Linked DNA regions of Homo sapiens: regions 1, 2, 4, 5, 6 and 7 are each linked to region 3. Evidence: promoter capture Hi-C in 16 types of primary human blood cells and fetal thymus (Javierre and others, 2016). All regions are on one chromosome and are shown on one strand. The core of a region is centred on a gene start or on the middle of the fragment in contact, and the rest is flanking DNA. Distances in the headings are between cores, read along the strand shown.

Region 1 (2,700 bases), core at 116-2,615, 950 kb before region 3:
GCATGAACAAACTGGATCATTTTTGTTTTTCCTTTGTAATTTATTATATTGTTTCAATCCTTAAAACACTATCACCTCTTTCCAGTTAGTATCTACTGTCAGCTCATTATTTTGTCCATTATTCTTTCAAACTGTGCAAATTATACATAATGCAAAATTTACCACTTTAACCATTTTTAGGTACAATTCAGTGGCATTAAGTACATTCAGTATGTGATGATGAAAAAGTTCTGGTGATGGATGGTGGTGCAAATACCACTGAAACTCTATACCCATTAAACAGTAACTCCCCATTCTTCCTCCCTTCCCTGACAACCACTGTTCTTATTCTGTCAGCTAATTTTTTTATCAGTTGATTTTTATAGTTAATTACTCATGGGTTTTTTATTGTTTTATTTAAATAACAATTGCTACTAACATTTCTGATTTACTAAGTGTCATGCTCTGTATTAGGAGTTACGTCTATATTAACTAATTTAATCTTCACAACCATCCTAGGAGGTAGTTAGCTTTACTAATTTTATAGATAATGAAATGGGCACCGAAAATTTAGGTAACTTGCAAAAGATCACACAGACTGTAAGTAGTGAGGCTAAGATTCATGCCCAGTGTCTCCAAGGCCCATGTTTTCTACCAGTATTAAGCTGCCTCTAGGACAGTTACTAGAAACCAACTTTTGCCTCATCAGCAAAAAATCTTTCCTCTTAGTTTAGTTATTAGTATAATACATTCTAGCAGTACCTCATATTGCTATTCTGATATTTTTGAAAATTTACATTTCCAAATGAATTGTATACTAACAAACAAAATGAAGCTGCTCACTAGCAGCTGACAAAACACAACAAAAAGTAACGCTGGCCAGGCGCAGTGGCTCATGCCTGTAACCCCAGAACTTTGGGGGGCTGAGGCGGGCGGATGGTTTGAGGCCAGGAGTTTGAGACCAGCCTGAGCAACATGGTGAAACCCTGTCTCTAGTAAAAATACAAAAATTAGCCAGGTGTGGTGGTGCGTGCCTGTAATCTCAGCTACTCGGGAGGCTAAGGCACGAGAATCGCTTGAACCTGGGAAGCAGAGGTTGTAGTCACCCGAGATCGCGCCACTGCACTCCAGCTTGGGCAATAGAGCGAGACTCTGTCTCAAAAAATAAATAAATAAATAAATAAATAAATAAATAAAAATAAAAAATAAAAGGTAACCTTGATTCATAAGAGAAATTTTATCCAGCTATTCAAACTGGATCCTTTGGCCTAGTTATTAAGAGTAGCTTCGTAAGCTTCTTCAATAACCAACCTCTCAAAGCCACAAGGCACACTCTTATTAGAATATCAGAAAAGTTTTGTCTAGTGGAAATAAGAATGGCCAAGTTCTTAAGACCTTTCTTGATAACTAGATGCTATAAAAATAAAAGCTGTAAAACGGACTGTATCTTAACATATACCATCATATATAAAGCTTATCGAACCTGTAAATTTTGAAGTGGAGTGGCAAGTATTTGATGCTGTTGCTGCTGGAAACAGGCAGGTTGGCCATAAGGTGTTGACAACTGACAAGCAGGTGGAAAGTCATTCTTTACAACTGGAGTTCTAAAACTAGGAAATATATATATATTTTTATTTAAAACATTACAATTTAACAAATAAGTCTGATTCAGTTTCATGTATTTTAGACTGATATAAACTTAAAAGTGTTACATCAAACAGAACCCAAGTTAGTTTTCATGATATAGCTGACACTTATTCCAGATATGCCACCACCGGATATTTAATTTTGGGGAATTCTTTCTGAAAGTAAATATTTGTATGCAGACAAGAAATCTTTGTTTGAAAAGATGGCATTTAAAATACAAAGTGGTTAGGGTTATTTTATATGAATTTAGCAAACATCAGCTTGTGGCCGGCCATAGATTTTGAGTTTTTTTTTAAACAATAATGTTCTATAATGGCTTGCTAGAAATATCAGAAAGCCAATTACATCACAGGAGTTTGGCCTTTGAGCTTAAATCTGTCCAGTATACATTTGTGCTTTGTTTGCCTTTTTGCTATTAATATATCCTCAACACCTAGAACAATGCTTGGCACAAAAGAGCTCCACAAATATTTGTTAACAATAATTAACCTAGTATCACAAGAAATATCTATTATCGCTATTTTAGTTAGCAATCATTCTTTAGAATATTCTACATATAATAAAATGAGGCAATATATAGTAAAACTATATTAAGTAGGTAAGAGGCTGGGTTATAAAATCTTTAAGACCAGTTCTAATTAAGATCAAGGATTACATTATGAAAATGAAACGCAAAAGACAACACGGATTTAAGCTATCCCCTAAGACATTAAAGATATAGCCACCGGTTGATGGTTATAATGTATCGCATCCCTTTATTTCCTTTCTCTGAAATGTCATTCATTTTCTTTTGTAGTATCCCTTGTGTTCCCTATCAGCACACTCATCATCGAACTTCTTCACTTATCCATCATTCCTATTCACTCAAATACTACACCTTTGAATACCTCCAGAACTACATGAACTGTAAAAACCAATCTCTTCCAGAAGCTATCACTTTCCAATTAACACCACTTATGTGAAAAAATTCATCTACTCTTTATCTGCTCTAAGAATGCTAACCTTTAAAATCTCTCTCTTAATAGAGAGATATCTGTATGGCAATACATGATTATCAAGACGTTTTACATCCTT
Region 2 (2,700 bases), core at 18-2,517, 640 kb before region 3:
GTTTCAGTGGGCTTTTATAAGATTTCTGCCAAAGCATCCTCATGTTTAAGTGGCTAAACTGCTTCCATGAGAGTCCTTAAAAATAACACCTGCTACTAGAATTATACGTGTCCCAACTTACATTGCTTTTAGTAAATTTCTCTGGCTACCACTGGCCCTATTCTATTTCTATTCACTATTGCTCAATTTCAGTAATTATTTCTGAATTTTTGGTACATTAATAATTAAGGAATTCTCCCCAAACTCCCAGAATGTCAAATCTAAAGAATATGCTCTAGTGTTCATTTGACCTGACCTTTCTCTGAGACTTTCTTCCCCTTGGCTTTCCATACAATGCTTTCTACTGGTTTTCCTACTTCTTCAGATTTTACTTCCTTTTCTGTTCTTCAGAGCTTCCTGAATTGTCACAGTCACGGTGCTGTTCAGTGGTGAAATTATCCACCTGACTGTTTCACCTGTGCTTCAAACAATCTCAGGATGTCCAAAAGGAGCTTCATTAAGCTCCCTGTTTTGGGTAATTGCATCTGTCAACCAAGCTAGAACATTTGAGTCCTTTACTCTCCATTTCCCCAAGAGTTAATAAGACATCTCCATGGCCATGACCCTAGTTCAAACTCTTATCATCCATAAATTAACTTTCTAAATGGTCTCTGAGCCTTTATTCTTCCCCACATCACCTTCTCCCATACCTCATCTTCTCTTCTCACTGCCAAACTCTGTGATTTCCTGAAAACACAAATGTGATTGCTTCACATTCTTACTTTAAATCCATCAATGCTTTTCAATATCTACAGGAGTGCTTCTCACACATTAATGTGACCCTGAATCACCTGGGGATCTTGTTAAAATGTGCTTCTAGCCTGGAGTGGAGTCTAGCAAGGTTCATGTGATGCTGCTGGTCCTCGGACCACACTTTGAGTAGTGGGGGTTTATAGGTTAATTTTCAAATCTTATAGTATAGCATACCAGGCTCATTACAATCTAGTCCATTGCCCAGAATACATCTGTGATACCTCTATCATGTGTAACCTTTATTCCACCTCGATCCCTTGCATATGCTATTGCCTCTGACCAATGCTGTCTCCTCCCAGCCTTCTTCCCCAGGAAACTTCCTTCTACTGATTAATTAGTTGGTTGATCATTCATTCATTCATCCATGATTGATCTTAAGAATGACCTCCTCTAACAAGACCTTTCCGGCAGACTCTCCAAGATAGAATTAGGTAAGTGTCCTTTCACTGTTTTAGTAGCACTTTCATCCTGGACACTTTTCAATTATATCATCTGACATAGACAATAATGGAGCTGCTTACACATATATGTTCCCCACCCTTACCCTGCAGCCACTCTGTGGTTCCTTGAGGGCAAACTCTATCTTACTCTCTTTGTTTCCTGCAGGTCCAGCACAATGCCTGGCACAAAATGAGCTTTCAGATATTTATTAAACTTTGTGCTTTACTTATGAAACGCCTCTCACCAACGTTGCAGGCAAGGGGTCTGAGTAGGTCAGGAGACTGAATTAATTGACCTTCACAATTTCCTAGCCACATTTCTTATATCTTTTGTCATTCAGGAAAATAGGCACCAGCTGTAGATTTGTCCATATTAAAAAGATAAAAATCAAATAAAATTTCCCTAATAACAGAGAAATAGATGTTTTACAAGCTGTTAGTATGAAATGGTTCAATAATATCACATTTGTTTCACATTTCTTAACAATTCACCTTTGGGTCTTTATCATGGTGATCTTTTTTTCTTAATAAAAATCTCACTAAAATTTTCATGAGGCCAGTGGTGAGAGAACAGAACTATATTAAGAGCCTTATGAAAAATATATTATACATCTTTCTCTAGAAACTGTCTTTTAATAATTTCATTGGATCATCAACTGCTTATCTTCATTCTAGCTTTGTAGCTCCTTTTTCTTTTATCATTAGAAGTGGCTAATAAAAAGGTAGATTAAAATACATTTGGCTGTTTGACCAGGTTTGAACATAATTTCCAACACCATGAACACTGGGAAGCAATGTTTATGTAAGAGAAGATCAACCTCCTCTTTTTTGAGCCCAGAACAGATATTATCAGAGGAAGAACAATCTTTCTTAACACAGTTGAGCCATTAGGTACAGTTTCATCTTCTGCCACTTTCAGCAACACAATCCAATATCTTGTTAATCATGGAAACTGCTGAGCTGTTTTATACATTTCTATACTTTAGCATATGCTCTTTGCTCTGCTTAAAACTCCCTTTCCACCCATCTGTCTAACTCTTCCTGATTTGTCAGACTTAAGTCAAATATCACTTGCTTGAGGTATGTGAACTGATTGCCTCAGCTGAGCTAGCCTCTTCCTGAGTTATCTGTAGTCTTTTGCACTGCCGGAAAATCTGATTTATTTGCATGACCCCAATCCCATCCCATCAGAGGCAGAGACTTTATATCTCCTGTGCCTGGTTACGTGTAGGCTTATATAATGCTTGTGGTAAGTGGGATATAATGCCTTTGCCCTCCTTCCCTCAAGCCCACCCCCAGAGAGATCACGTCCCAATTTCTGGCACTTGTGAATGCATCGCCTTACATATGCAAAAGTGACTTTGCAGATGGAATTAAGGATCTTGAGATGGGGTGTTTATTCTAGATTATTACGTGGGTGGGCCCAGTGTAATCACAGGGGTCCCTTTAAGATGCAGGTAGGAGTGTC
Region 3 (2,700 bases), core at 146-2,645:
ATCATTTGGTGTCCTTGTTTTCTAACAAATGGCTTTTTCTATTGTTTCCATTAATTTCACCCATATTCGTTTTTTTAAAAACAAGGCCCTTATCCTCATCAGCAAAACACAGATGTATGATTTAGCATATAAAATCGGTAATTACATACTAATTTACGAAAGATTTTTTTTTCTCCTTTTCGTCAGTTTTCAAGAAGTCTTCCCGTGATTAACTGTAAACAGGAATGGTTTACATCTCAAATTAGAAGCCATTAATTAGCATGACGAAGTCAACTGCAAGATACACAGATTATTTAAATTATTTAATCACTATTCACCTTGGCTAAACTGTAGTATACTCTTTCAATATCCTTAGGCAGGTTATCGATCTGTCACTAAATTACCTCCAGATCAGTTAGACATGAATATTAGCGTCCTTTCCTTTCCCTCAGGTTTACATTCTCCCTTCTCGTAAACACTTAAAAAAGCTTTAAGGTTCTTTAATTCCAAATACCTAATTAGCCATCACTAGCCTTTTTGTAATAAGGAAAAAGAGTATCTGAAGTACAAATCAAGAGTTCGCTTTGCCCGTTTAACAATAAAAAACATTTAAAAAACGTACGCCAAAGGCAATGGCAGTAATAAAAGAAATATGCAGAGGTGGCTTCAGCAAATAACGGGTTTGCAAAACGCAAGTGCTTAACAAAAAGCAGCCCAAACCTCTATTGCAATATACAGCACTCCAATAAATTACACAACACTTGCATAGGCTGCAGAAATAACGCAGGACAAGACTTACACAGATGCCAATCCGCAGCATTTATACACATGCACATGGCAAGAGACAGAAACCAAACACTATCATTCAACTCGGGAAGGGTAGCGCGATCCCGAGCTTGCCCAGCGTGAGAGTGCTCTCTGCGTGTGTGTCTGTGTACGCGCGTGAGTGAGACCCATCCTTGGGGCATTTCCCCTCTCTGGGCAGTTTTGCTTCATTTGTTTCATATTTCTGCTACATAGAAACTAACTTCCATCTCAGCTCCAGCCAGCGCCGCTGAATAGAGCCTGTGCTGCGGCTCCGTGTGCGTCAGATCCCTCCGCGGAACCGTCCCCGGCCCCCTCCCTGCCACTATCGGCCTCCACAGAGAAAGCGCCTTCCAGCCAACCGGCGGCTTGGGCTCCGACATCTTCTCCGACTGGAAATAAATAAATAAATCGCACGCCCTGCGGGGAGGAGCGGGTGGGGGTCTCACTGTGCCGCGTGCGGAGCGCTGGGGACGAGGGGTCGGAGGCACTCCTTTTTTAGCGCCGGGGGGCGGGGGCGCGGGCCAGAGCCGGGGCCGAGCCCTGGGCCGCGAAGGCGGCGGACTCCTTTCTGCGGCGGAGGGATCCGCGGCGGAGGCGGCCACGGCCGTAGTCGCTGCCTGAGAGTTGTTGTTTCCTCCTCCTCCTCCTCCGCCTCCGCCGCCGTTGCTTGAATGGTGGAGCCGAAGCTCGGCTCGTGAACACACACTGACAGCTATAGGGCAGGCGGCGGCACCGTCCCCGCTTCCCCTCGGCGGCGGGGTGTCCCGTCGGCGGCCCTGAAGTGACCCATAAACATGTCTTGTGAGAGGAAAGGCCTCTCGGAGCTGCGATCGGGTAAGTCGGGGGGCTGCCGGGGCCGCTGGCACCGGGCGATTCCGCCCGCGGTCCCCCGCCCCCCGCCGCCCGACCGCTCAGCCTGTGTGTCTCCCCGTCCCTCTCTCCCGCGCAGAGCTCTACTTCCTCATCGCCCGGTTCCTGGAAGATGGACCCTGTCAGCAGGCGGCTCAGGTACGGCGGCGCGCGGCGCGGGCCGGGCCGGCGCTCGCCGCTCGCGGGCGTGGGGGAGGGAGGCGGCGGCGGCGGGGCCGCGGCCCGGGGCGCGGGGCTCAGCTCTCCCCGCTTTGTTGTTGCAGGTGCTGATCCGCGAGGTGGCCGAGAAGGAGGTAAGGGCGGCGGCGGCCCGGCGCGTCCCGCCGCCGCGCGGCCGCCTCTGGGCCGCTGCGCCGCCGCTGCCGCCGCCGGCAGGGCGCGGGGCGCGGGGCTCGGGGTCCCCGCCGGGGCGCGGGGCGGGCGGGGGAGGGGAGCGGGCGGGTAGGGGCCGGGGGCCGGGCTCACGGGGTGTCCTCTCCCCGCAGCTGCTGCCCCGGCGCACCGACTGGACCGGGAAGGAGCATCCCAGGACCTACCAGAATCTGGTGAGACATTCACGTCGCAGAGCAAAGAAACTTTTCCCTGAGTCGAATAAAAATTGAATTTCCCGCAATTTTTTACAGAGACAAAAACTTGGCCCTAGAACGTGAAAGCTCCAAAGGCCATGGGGAGGGTTGGGAGGCCGGCGCGGGGTCTGCGGGGGCCAGTGGCCGGGGGTACTCGTACTTCGGGGCCGCAGGGGCTGCGGACAATTTATTTGTGATATTTTGTTAATGTGCTAGAAATAAAGATACGTCATGAGTGTTGTGCAGTGCAAGGCCGGAGGAGGAGGGGCCGGCGCGCGCGTCCGTGCGGGCGCGGGGGCGCGCGAGAGTCGGCGGCGGCGGGAGCGGCGCGAAGAGGGAGAGCGCGCTCGCTCGTTCGCTTGCTCGCTCTGCACGCGCGGCCGGCTCGGCTTTCTCCTGCCCTACACAATAGCTGGTGACTAACTGCTCCGAAGTGGCATTAGCATTTCACAAGCAGGCTATCCAGCCGCTGCGGTAC
Region 4 (2,817 bases), core at 200-2,699, 620 kb before region 3:
CCTTGAAGAGAAAATTGTGGATCATGTGTCCATTCTAGTTAAGTAGAAATCTGTCATACTTTCCTTCTGGTTGTAATCCTGGACTACAAATCTCAGGTTGGGATTTCAGCCTTAGCATTCAACAAGTTCTTTAGTCTACATTTAGCAAGGCATGGGGCGGAGTGCTGGGCACATGTGACAGGGCTGTAATTCTTCTGCTCTTTCAATTTCTTATAAATTTCCTGCTCAGAATTATAATGAAAAGTCCAGAATCAGGATGCTAGAAATAAAATATTTTAGGCAGCCCTCTGAAAATTTATCCTATTCAAGGCTGTTCCCATGTTTGGCAATTTAAAACTCTAAGTTAAAAAAAAAATTAAGCATCCCTGTTATAGGGACAAGAATGCAGAAAAATAGCCTCTGCTCTAATGAAGTAGATATGTTCGATGTTCATCAGCATCCACTCCAATAGGAGTATAGATTTTGCTTGACAAGTACAATTCCGGGTTACTCTCTTTCTCATGTGTGTTGCTCTGAAACCTTACTTGTGCTCATATACGGAATGAGAACAAGTATCTGTATTACTCTGAAAAATATGAGGCTGTACATTGGCCAGAAATATGAGCAAGCAAAATTAGAGGCAAATGAAAAGTAACAAAAGGAAAAATTAAATTTTACTACAACATTGGTATATTTTAATATGTCTAATCAAGGGTTCACAAAATATATCTAACTGAGATTTTCCTTTCTCAAAAAATATAGTCCCTTCACAAAATAGAAGCAGCAGCTGTCTGTTAGGGGAGCTGGATTAAAAAATATATGAACTTATATATTATAAATAAATTGCTAGAGCTGAAAATGCCTTCAGATACTCGTCAGATAATTTTCCTATATATTCACTAATTAGTGCACCACTTAAAATATATCTTTCAAGCAGTCTCAGGCATTTGGGTGAAACTTGCCCCTTGCAAGAAATAAAGAAGCATATATTTCAAATAGCAATTATTGTCATCCCAGTAACTTAGTTCTGATCACTTGATGTTACAACAGGGATTTCTGGAAACATCTGTAGGATAATATGTGGAGGTAAGAGTTTCCATTACTAAAACAAGTCTAGAATATCTAACTTTTTCACCAGGTGTTATTACAAAGCATGGGAACTGTGATGTTTGTAACTGATTCTGCAGCAAAAATCTTCAACACCCTTTGTCAACCAGCGCTGCTTTTTTTCCTTCTGATTCAAAGATTCTAACAACTTGGCAGACATATTTCAAAGGTGCAATCCAGGCAGCTTAAAGAGAAGTGGGTTTACGCAATTCCGGCATCTACTATAACCTAGGGCAGATCCAACATTTTCTCTCTGACGGTGCTACCCACTTATCTTTCAGTCATTAAGAAAGTACACCTGTAACAGGTGACGGTATTTCCAGGTGAGTGAGGCAACTGCAGGCAAATAGAATAAGAAAAAAAAAATCCACCACCTGATTTGGTTTAAAGCAATCATGCAATTCTCATTATAGCCACATCTTTCAAAAACACCTTTTCCGTGGCAAGCAAAGTTACTGATAATGCGTGTGGCTTTTGTCACAGTGATGCATTAGGTAAGCATGTGTGTGCTGAGTACCAGGGGTGCTTCAAAATGCATCTCCGTCATCTTCCACTCTTCTTCTCTAAGGTTCTGCCTATAAAAAAAAAAAAAAAAAAAAAAAAAAAAAAGTCAGTTATTGCATTACATCGACAAGAAAATTCACCCTTGGCAGGGGTTTTTTAAATGTCAGGAACAGAGATGTTGGAAATCATAACAGATCACCTCCATGTGATTGATAAGAGAAAATCCTGGGTTTCAGCATCAGAGCCCAGATTTAAATCACACCCACCCGACCTGCCAAATATAAAAGTGGAAAGAAAGCCGCATGTTTTCAATGACCTACTGAGATTCCTCTCAGAGGTACTGTTCCACTTGTGTATGGCTGGGTGGGGGGTTACCTTGCTCAGAGGGCCTGCAGAGATGCCCATTAATAGCAACCCAAGATGAAGAACCACTCTAGAACGACCATATCTGTTAGTAAAGAGTCGCTGCCCCAGTCCCCCAACTGCCACCCCTGCGCACCCTCCCCCTTGAGCCAATGGATAAAGAGCTGACATCTGGCACAGGGGGCCTCTGTGGCCTGCTCAAGCTCTGGCCAGTCAGCACCCAGTGTTGACCGGTTGTTACCTACTTTGGATATTACCCCTGAAAGCTAGGGATCTGAAAGTACAATCTTCTATGACAGGCCCTTCTTGGGGTCTACTAAATTTTAACTTTGATGGTTTTCTACCTAAAAAGTATCGGTGAAATGGCCTCCCTTTCTCAGAATTAGTTGGCTATCACAATGGGCCAGCCACTGTGGGCTCCAGCCAACTACAAGGGAAACTGAGATCCCCCCACCACCCCCACCAGGGATTCCATACCATCTAATATTTACATACTTTAAAAAACCTCTTCACAGGACAAACAACATATCCAGGGCCAATGTGGCCTGCAGGCCACCATCTAGAGACCTCTAACCTACCTTTGCCCCTCCCACTATGGAGGGCAGCCCAGTCAGAGCCTACACTGCACCTGGGCCTGTTGGGCCCATGAATGTCCTCTCCTACCAAGTAAGAGCAATTATAGGTGCTAATGATGTCTTTATGTTTCCTGATAGGCTTTGTTGCCATGTTTTTTATGTGTGTATACTACACAGGGAGTAGGAAAGGAAAAGAGAAAACAGGGCTTTCATCTTTTAGTACATTAAACCTGTGAACACTCTGTCAAAGCCTTAGACTATAGACTGTATGATGAATCACTACCAAGGT
Region 5 (2,888 bases), core at 65-2,564, 730 kb before region 3:
TCATATGAATATATCACACTTAAGGCATTTTCTCATTGACTTCTACGTGGTTTCTACTTTTCATTGCTATAACAAATATCCTAATACGTTTCTCCTGCACTTGTGGGTTTTTTTGAATTAGATACCTGAAATTTTGACTTGATTTTTTTTTTTCTTACAGAAATTCTGTCAATGGGACATGCATGTGAGTTTAGAAGCAATTCTTTCTTTAATATGCAGAGGCTTCTGGGAGTGCTCAGGCCATCAACCAAAGGTGTTCATTAGCCCATACAAGCTGCTTTCCTCAATTTCTAGATGAGATGTACTGTTATGAGAAAATGGAAGAAAAATTACAGGAGAACAAATAGGGAATTGCTAAGATATGTACATCTGTAGTGAGGAGAGGAGTTGGGGGCTTGGGGGCAGGGGTGAAATGCCTAGCGACTTAAATGACATAAGGCACTGATTTCTTGAGTGTTGAGTAAAGGGATGTTAGAAGATAGAAAATTGCCAAGGATTAGTTTGTAACTCAAAATTATAGCTCAGTCCAATCCCATTTCCCACTAAGAGGGGGAAACATCTTTGTCTCCCTCTTCTTTCCCCTCTCCCACAGGAGTAGCTGACTCCTCCCTGTTCCAGGACCCAGGGCTCAGGCTGACTTGTGTTAAGCTTCCATCTGGGTTAAACAGATTTCAGGAAGATCACGTGGAAAATTAAATGCCACCGCAGCATTGTTTCTATAGGAAATGAGTTTCTCTTTGCAAACAATTATTTGCTTTCGGTACACAACCACTTATCATAAGGAGGGAGCCTGTCTGTGCTTATAAAGCTTAAATTTGAAGGACTCCAGTTATCTTAATTTAAAATTAAAATAGCCTAATTTGAGAAGAAACCATGTTCTTAAATTTCCAATAGATGTTCCAATATGTATTTACTGCAATTTCTATGTTGGGGTGGTTTGTTGTCATTTTAAAAGTGAGGCTGGAACACTATAATATGTCCTGTCTTCTTTTTGCCTGTTAAACAAGGCGAGCTAGGGCAGCTTCTCAAAAGGCTCAAGAGGCACAGTCAGTGATCTCAGGCCACCCTGGATGGCGGGAGGCCACGAGAGGGGGCTTGCACCACCAGCTGCAGGGAATTGTTAAATTCCTGACCTAGTTTTTGAAACTATTCAAGGAGAAAGCAGGGACACAAATACTAGCTCTAGCCTCGTTCAATGAGACCACGTTCCTGTTTTCATTTCACTTTAGCCGCATTTGTTCGAGCAGCAGGTGAAGCGCCTTTCAAAAGACTGTCATCTCCAAGGGAAGTCATCTGTTTTACATTAATTGTCCATTAGTCTCCAAGCCTCGATCCATTAAAGTCCTCAGCCACTCATTACGTATATTGTGCAGGAGTCCTGCTGTCAGCTTTTCAATGCAGAGCTGTTTTTCTGCATCTGACTTAATTGCTCTAAGTGCCTGTTCCTTTGAGAGAGCCTAGAGTGTACCAATTAATGCTAACTTTTTCCTTGCTAGGTTGAACACATAAGCCATGGTGAGGCCAGTTCAGCTGCTATTTACTCGAATTTATTAGAGACCCTTCTGCCTTAAGCTCACACAGTGGGTAGTTTACATCAGTACTGCCCTGTTTGCCTGATGACTCCTGGATATGTTTTGAATGGACTTAATTTTCTATAGTGAAAATGCTCCATAAATTTACAATCTATCCATGTTATTTTGAAGAGGGGTTTAAATTCCATTTGCTCCTGATTAGTTTAAACATGTAATTTTTAAATGCATGTGGCATTCTAAACAACAGCTTGGATGAAATTGACTTTGTTGATGGAAAAATTAAGCTTTCATCCTTTCAAATGACAGCTCGAGGGGTGGCCGTACAATAATTTAATTACCGTAGCTTCCTTAATTACAGCCGACTCACCTACCTTTAGCTCCATTACCGTTTTCCTTAATAAACACGAATAAATGGACGAAAAACAAAAATTAAGAAAACCAATCTTAGAGTAGCTTTTATAAAATTTTGATAGGCATAGAGGCAAATACAAATATGTGAGACTCAGAGAAACATATTAACCCCTTCAACTCTAAAAGAACTAGAAAAACCACAATTTTGTTTTTTTCTTTTTAAAATTGTACCATAGTCCCACTTATTAATACTAAATTTTATATTTTATTAATATTCAAAATATCCAATCAATATAAATTCCTGTCAAGATGGTAATATATCTATAAATTCAGATTCTGAGTAATGACCTGATATTAATTGAATTTATTGCAGGTTTTTAAATCTTTACTACAGTTTAATTCCATCCTATAACTAAGTTTGTTAACAAATGGCCCTGTTAATATATAATTAAGTACCTGTGTATTGATTTGCTTAATTACATCTAAACAATACCAAAAAATAAAAACCACACAGATGCACCCAGACTGATTTAAATTGCAGGATATCATGAAAATTAAAGACAGACTTCTGTGTCTTATTTCCTGAGGATTGTTGGGGAAATATGCACTTTTGGCATAAGCAAACTACTTAGAACAAAAATAGCAACCATTCTGGGAAACATTTACATTAGGTGAAATCTGTCTCTGAGGCTGTCTGCCTTCCACCCAAGAGCTCCCTGACATGGCAGCGTCCCCTCTCCTCTCTATTCTCTCACCTTCCTCAGCTGGAGGCCAGTCGTGTATCTCATGTCACATGGCCCTGGTTAGTAACAAGGCATTATTAGCAAAGACAGCTATTTAGAGGTAGGGTTTTGAACTCTCTGAGGATTATCATTTTCTTCATCTTCACTATCTTCATCCTCATCTTCAATCAACAGTTTTGAGAGCAGACTGTGTACAGAGCACAGAGAGCCACTGAAGTTGTTCCCCTCTCCCCAAAATAGTAACCTTTATCATCTAGATGAA
Region 6 (2,805 bases), core at 43-2,542, 790 kb before region 3:
AGATATAGAGCCTGGAACATATTATCTTATGTAATTATTATTGCCTTCCTTATGTGTTATTTTTAAAAGTGTGAGTACCTAATGTCTCAATTTCCTGAGCAAATACCTGCCACCCGACTTTGTGAAATTACAGATAAGGGCTAACATGGTTACAGGATCCAGTGTATTTGCGTAGCAAGGCTAAGGGACAATCTATTTAAAAGGGGGCAACTTCCAGGGGCTTTGTCTTGAAACTGTAAAGCAAGACATTTGCTTTTGCTTAGATTCTGTGATCTTTGTTTGCGTGGCTTGAAAGAGACTAAAAGCTACCCTTCTCCCTAATCACCCCTTAATACTGCCATTGGTGGTAGGGGCCCCTATCACCAGAATTCTGTCATTAATATCTCTACCTTGCCTTGACTCCACTAAAGCCAATGAGTGTGGACATGGTTGTGATAGATACTCCTATTCATTCATTCAACAAGCAATCATGGAACACCTACGTTGCAGAAACTGTCCTTTAAGGAACTCAGATGGAACCTGCGAGTCATCTCTGGATTCTAGAACCCATGTTCTGGCTCCATGCCACTGCTGTAGACACTATCCTGTGTCATTAAACACTAAAAGCAGTGTTTTGTAAAGCAATCTCAGGTGTATCAATCCCTCATCGGCTGGCGCAGACCTCCAGCCATCCATTTCCTAAGTTTAACAGAGGAACTAAAATTCCAAGACCCAATTCCACAGTCGTTGATGAGCATAAGCACTTCAGCCATCATCTCCTCTGCGATGAAGTGGTCATTCTCTGAGGGTAGGAATAGGTTTCTTCTTTGTTTTTAATTCCAAGCCTGTAGTGTATTTCAATGTCAATTCATTTAAACTTATTTACTAGCTATCAGGCACAGGCACATCACAGAAGACAGATAAGCATCTCCACCTTCCAAAACTTGCTGTCTACATGAGTACTCTTTGACAAATTATTTGGGGTGAGTGGGGTTTCTTTAGCATGAAAATGACAACATCTATCAGTGTTTAGTGGTGAGTACAGCCCAGGGTTAGACATCAACTGTCAGCTTAGGCTGTTGTACAGAGGCATTTTTTTCCATTGTATTTTTAAGTGAAACAAGGGAAACTCCATTTCCGCTATTGGGAGTAAGGCCACTTTCTTGTGCAGGCCCCCACCGCAGCCCCTCCAGGAGAAAGTAGGTGAGCTCTCTCGGACGTGGCCTTTCCGGGGTTGGAGCCGGCAGCACCGCCCAGCAGGGCTTCCGCTCGGCGTGTGTGATGTCCTTGGCGGCCGCTAGAGGGAGGTGAGAGCCTGAGGCAGCAGCGCGAGGAGCCGCACCGCCCAGGCCACCTGGGCTCCAAGGCCCAGGACCTCGCGCCCTGGCTCAGCAGTCACTCAGCTAGATTTCGAATGCCCTGGAAAACAGCGTGAAAACAGAGTTCAATCAAAGATAGGGTTGCCAGGTAAAGTACGACAGCCCAGTTAAATCTGAATTTCAGATAAACAACAAATACAAATACTTTTTAAAAAATCGTTATCTGAAATTCATATTAAAATAAAATCCAGACTGGGTGCCCTGGACTTTTATTGACTAAATCTGGCAACTCTAACCAAAGAGCAAAGGGCCCTTGGAAAGACTGAAAGCCCTTTTAAGGTACAGAGGAGGGAAAGACAATATTTACTACCTGTTAACTGAATATTGGACAAAGTATTGCATCCCGTAGACTGGAAGAGGCTGTTCTTGTCACAGTTGGCAGAGACGCAGCCCTGCAGCCTGTGGCCTTGTCTAGGACAGACGTGAGGAAAGGTCCTCCCCACCTTAGAAAATTTCCTCCTTTATCTTCTCCAAGGCCGAATGCGTTGCTAAAGTCCTCTCTGTGTTCATTCAGGAATTTCTCCTAAAGATGCAATTATCAGAAGAACACAAACAAAGCAAAGAACACGAGCAAAATGCAAGCAAACACACACACACAAACACACAAAGAAAAATACACAGAAAAAGAAAAACACAAGTAAAGAACAGAAAAAAAAAAAAAAAAAAAGTCCGTTGACTTTTCCAGAGAGATTACTTGGCAGCTTGTTGGAAATAAGTACCAGCCTAGGAAAAACACATTAAAAGCCCAGGTGGAGAGGCAATAAAAAAGAAGGGAACAAAGCATCAAGATAAAAATGAGGGCCACAGAAAGAGTCTGCCGTTACTAATGCTACATCCCTGGTTAACAACAATATTGTCCAGGGCTGGAGCCTTTCAGAGGGTAGCTCACACCAAGTTAACAGAATGACATCTGAGCACCTGGAATGCCCCATCGTGATTGCTATTCATTGGTGGTAATAGTTTTCGCAGACTGAATAAACTCCATCAGTGAACGGAGCTCTACTGTCTTTTGGTCCTGAAGTGGAGATTAATTACAAGGGGCGTGTGCTCACCCGCAACCAGCTCCTCTCTCTTCACTGCTTGCTCGCTTTCCTTATTCAGAGTCACCAAAGGTACGGGGAATACTGAGAAGGTTCTTAGAACAAATATCTCCAGAAAGCTCATAAAAGGAGTCATTCCTCCTTTGCTTCCTTTTTCCCAAGGTCACGATCAAGCAAAAACTTCCTATTTGCAAGGAGAGGCTGCCTTAGCCTCGAGAGGAGGACATGTAAATTACTGACCTTGAAGACACTGCACTACCCTGCGGCACTGCAGACCTTTAAAAAAAAAAAACAACCCAAAAGACCAATGACGCTAATATCAAGTTAAATCAGCAGGGGGCACAATTTCTCCACAATGTGGTAAGCTGCTTTTTCTGATTAGAAGGAAAAATGCCTAAGCTGTTTCT
Region 7 (2,981 bases), core at 329-2,828, 590 kb before region 3:
GGCTGACTTACAAAAGACTGAAGCTTGAGTTTTACAGAATCCCTGTCAGAAAGACAGATTATAAAATAAAGGTCAATTTTTGAAAAACTGTTAGTACATGTTATAAATTGAAACAATATAATTTTAATGATAGAAAATGCTGTGGTTTTCCATCTATGTATCACTAGCACAGTCCCTGGCACTTACTACATGGGCAAATATTTGTATTAAACAAATAAATATTATTAAGCTTGAATTCATACTTTTAACTTTGGTTTTCTTTTTAACCAGTCAATATTTTTGGTCCTGTTTTCTTGATCAATTTGCATTGGTTTCTTTTTTACATGTTTATAATATGGTAAATCATCTTTCCCATTTGAAATTTTTTAATTTTAAAAAACCCATAATCTCATCACGCTGAGGCTTTTATTTTTCATAGAACCTTCCAGGGAGCCCACATTTAGAAGTAGACTTTATATAGTTGCCATAATAACAAATGTTTTGGGGAAGGATGTTTCTGTTGTATTACGAATATTTTTTGTTTCTAAAATCTCCATAGCTATCTTATTGCATGTATGAATTATATTGAGTACTTATGCTAATGTATTTAAACATTATTCTAACATTGGAGATTTAGGTGTGTTGTAAAGATGGTGTTTCAAATTTGCTGAATTTTTATTTTTTTATTTATTTAGAGACGGAGTCTCGCTCTGTTGCCCAGGCTGGAGTGCAGTGGCTCGATCTCAGCTCACTGCAAACTCCTCCTCCTGGGTTCAAGCGATTTTCCTGTCTCAACCTCCTGAGTAGCTGGGACTACAGGCGCCCGCCACGACGCCTTGCTAATTTTCGTATTTTTAGTAGAGACGAGGTTTCACCATGTTGGTCAGGCTGGTCTCAAACTCCTGACCTCATGATCTGCCCTCCTCAGCCTCCCAAAGTGCTGGGATTACAGACGTGAGCCACCATGCCTGGGCAACTTTTTCAATGATAACAAATGGTTATTAGTAGTAGGCTACCTAGCAGTACTAAAACACAGGGACTTTACACAGATTTTTCTAAATCTTGTCTCCTAAAGTCTTTCAAATGAAATATTTCAGTGAATTGTTTTAATGTAACATCTTTCCGTCTTTCCATTGGTTTCCTGGAATAGCTAATTGACATCATGGAACATAACATGATTTCAACTATCAAACTGTTAACAAAAACCTTTATATGACTGATGAATGGGAAGTAGTTCTGGCTGCTGCAAGTGGGACACTGAGGTCTGTGTGGGACACTGGTTGGTCTGTGAACATGTGGCTTTGCTGGACTGAACACAGTGACAGTGACACCAAAGGCAGCAGCCTGAACCTCAATTGGGCCAGTTGGCTTTATTAATGTTCTAGTCCTGAACAGTCAAAAAGGGTTGGGTCTGTGTCACCTTGGCCAAGATACTTATTCTACCAAAGCCTTGGTTTCCTCATCTGTAAAACACAGATAATAATTCAGCATAGAGAACTGCAGTGAAATTTAAATGTCATAATGTTCATAAAGTTCTTAGTGCAGTGCCTGGCATGCAAAAAGAGCTAAACATTAAATCCAATCACAAGTCCGTTCCAAGGTGGGTGAATAGGAACAGCTCCAGTCTGCAGATCCCAGCGTGATCGATGCAGAAGACAGGTGATTTCTGCATTTCCAACTGAGGTACCTGGTTCATCTCATTCGGACTGGTTGGACAGTGGGTGCAGCCCACGGAGGGCGAGCTGAAGCAGGGTGGGACGTCACCTCACCTGGGAAGGACAGGGGTTGGGGGATTTCCCTTTCCTATCCAAGGGAAGACATGACAGACTGTACCTGGAAAAACAGGACACTCCCACTCAAATACTGTGCTCTTCCTAGGTCTTAGCAACTGACAGACTAGGAGATTCTCTCCCATGCCTGGCTTGGCAGGCCCCACGCCCTGGTAGTCTTGCTCCCTGCTAGCCCAGCAGTCTGACATCAACCTGCGAGGCAGCAGCCTGGCTGGGGGAGGGGCGGCCGCCACTGGGGAGGCTTGAGTAGGTAAACAAAGCCACCAGGAAGCTCAAACTGGGTGGAGCCCACCACAGCTCAGCAGGGCCTACAGCCTCTATAGACTCCACCTCTGTGAGCAGGGCATAGCTGAACAAAAGGCAGCAGAAACTTCTGCAGACTTAAACGTCCCTGTCTGACAGCTCTGAAGAGAGCAGTGGTTCTCTAAGCACGATGTTTGAGCTCTGAGAACGGACAGACTGCCTCCTCAAGTGGGTCCCTGATCCCTGTGTAGCCTAACTGGGAGACACCTCCCAGTAGGGGCCGACTGACACCTCATACAGGCGGGTGCCCCTCTGGGACGACGCTTCCAGAGGAAGGATCAGGGAGTAACATTTGCTGTTCTGCAATATTTGCTGTTCTGCAGCCTCTGCTGGTGATACCCAGGCAAACAGGTCTGGAGTGGACCTCCAGCAAACTCCAACAGACCTGCAGCTGAGGAAACTGACTGTCAGAAGGAAAACCAACAAACAGAAAGAAGTAACATCAACATCAACAAAAAGGACATCCACACAAAAACACCATTTGTAGGTCACCAACATCAAAGACCAAAGGTAGATAGAACCACAAAGATGGGGAGAAACCAGAGCAGAAAAGCTGAAAATTCTAAAAACCAGAGCACCTCTTCTCCAAAGGATGGCAGTCCCTCGCCAGCAATGGAACAAAGCTGGACAAAGAATGACTTTGACGAGTAGACAGAAGTAGGCTTCAGAATGTCGGTAATAACAAACTTCTCTGAGCTGAAGAAGCATCTTCTAACCCTTCGCAAGGAAGCTAAAAACCTTGAAAAAAGGTTAGACAAATGGCTAACTAGAATAAGCAGTGTAGAGAAGACCTTAAATGACCTGCTGGAGCTGAAAACCATGGCACGAGAACTTCGTAGCACATGCATAAGCTTCAACAGCCGATTTGATCAAGTGGAAGAAAGGATATCAGTGATTGAAGATAAAATT

Evidence for each region. The method cuts DNA at HindIII sites, captures the fragments that hold promoters and counts their contacts. A CHiCAGO score of 5 or more calls a contact.
Region 1: a fragment that was not itself captured here is called in contact with the fragment with the promoter of PHIP in region 3 in 1 of 17 cell types (fetal thymus); the score reaches 5.1 in fetal thymus.
Region 2: a contact is called between a fragment that was not itself captured here and the fragment with the promoter of PHIP in region 3, in 3 of 17 cell types (naive CD8 T cells, megakaryocytes and total CD4 T cells). The highest score is 7.0, in naive CD8 T cells.
Region 4: a fragment that was not itself captured here is called in contact with the fragment with the promoter of PHIP in region 3 in 1 of 17 cell types (total CD8 T cells); the score reaches 5.6 in total CD8 T cells.
Region 5: a contact is called between a fragment that was not itself captured here and the fragment with the promoter of PHIP in region 3, in 1 of 17 cell types (M1 macrophages). The highest score is 5.4, in M1 macrophages.
Region 6: a contact is called between a fragment that was not itself captured here and the fragment with the promoter of PHIP in region 3, in 3 of 17 cell types (M0 macrophages, monocytes and naive CD8 T cells). The highest score is 7.6, in M0 macrophages.
Region 7: a fragment that was not itself captured here is called in contact with the fragment with the promoter of PHIP in region 3 in 1 of 17 cell types (naive CD8 T cells); the score reaches 5.2 in naive CD8 T cells.

Annotation. Positions count from the first base shown.
Region 1 is chr6:80,026,774-80,029,473 of GRCh38, reverse strand. TTK (TTK protein kinase) reads right to left here. Exons shown (of 22, transcript NM_003318.5): 13 at 1,463-1,589. Among named protein-coding and RNA genes, the nearest start is that of TTK, 23 kb to the right of the region's middle. The HindIII fragment of the contact is 179 bases long and covers 1,276-1,454 here.
Region 2 is chr6:79,714,829-79,717,528 of GRCh38, reverse strand. No RefSeq gene overlaps it. Among named protein-coding and RNA genes, the nearest start is that of SH3BGRL2, 85 kb to the right of the region's middle. The HindIII fragment of the contact is 6,207 bases long and covers 1-2,700 here.
Region 3 is chr6:79,076,949-79,079,648 of GRCh38, reverse strand. PHIP (PHIP subunit of CUL4-Ring ligase complex) reads left to right here and starts at 1,395. Exons shown (of 40, transcript NM_017934.7): 1 at 1,395-1,620; 2 at 1,736-1,794; 3 at 1,920-1,949; 4 at 2,142-2,201. The coding sequence starts at 1,581. It overlaps LOC124901346 (a long non-coding RNA gene), which reads right to left. Exons shown (of 2, transcript XR_007059652.1): 2 at 2,383-2,700. RefSeq lists an enhancer at 968-1,017 and silencers at 1,138-1,377, 1,508-1,677, 2,177-2,676. The HindIII fragment of the contact is 4,735 bases long and covers 470-2,700 here.
Region 4 is chr6:79,698,342-79,701,158 of GRCh38, reverse strand. SH3BGRL2 (SH3 domain binding glutamate rich protein like 2) reads right to left here. Exons shown (of 4, transcript NM_031469.4): 4 at 1-1,661. The coding sequence ends at 1,650. Among named protein-coding and RNA genes, the nearest start is that of SH3BGRL2, 68 kb to the right of the region's middle. The HindIII fragment of the contact is 5,171 bases long and covers 1-2,817 here.
Region 5 is chr6:79,808,823-79,811,710 of GRCh38, reverse strand. LINC01621 (long intergenic non-protein coding RNA 1621) reads left to right here. Exons shown (of 5, transcript NR_131786.1): 2 at 161-184. Among named protein-coding and RNA genes, the nearest start is that of LINC01621, 2.0 kb to the left of the region's middle. The HindIII fragment of the contact is 1,008 bases long and covers 811-1,818 here.
Region 6 is chr6:79,868,246-79,871,050 of GRCh38, reverse strand. LOC107986614 (a long non-coding RNA gene) reads left to right here. Exons shown (of 3, transcript XR_001744216.3): 1 at 1-787; 2 at 2,561-2,758. Among named protein-coding and RNA genes, the nearest start is that of LINC01621, 57 kb to the right of the region's middle. RefSeq lists an enhancer at 1,078-1,187 and a silencer at 1,176-1,353. The HindIII fragment of the contact is 7,794 bases long and covers 1-2,805 here.
Region 7 is chr6:79,662,892-79,665,872 of GRCh38, reverse strand. The region is part of intron 1 of SH3BGRL2 (SH3 domain binding glutamate rich protein like 2); the gene reads right to left. Among named protein-coding and RNA genes, the nearest start is that of SH3BGRL2, 33 kb to the right of the region's middle. RefSeq lists an enhancer at 1,912-2,524. The HindIII fragment of the contact is 2,694 bases long and covers 232-2,925 here.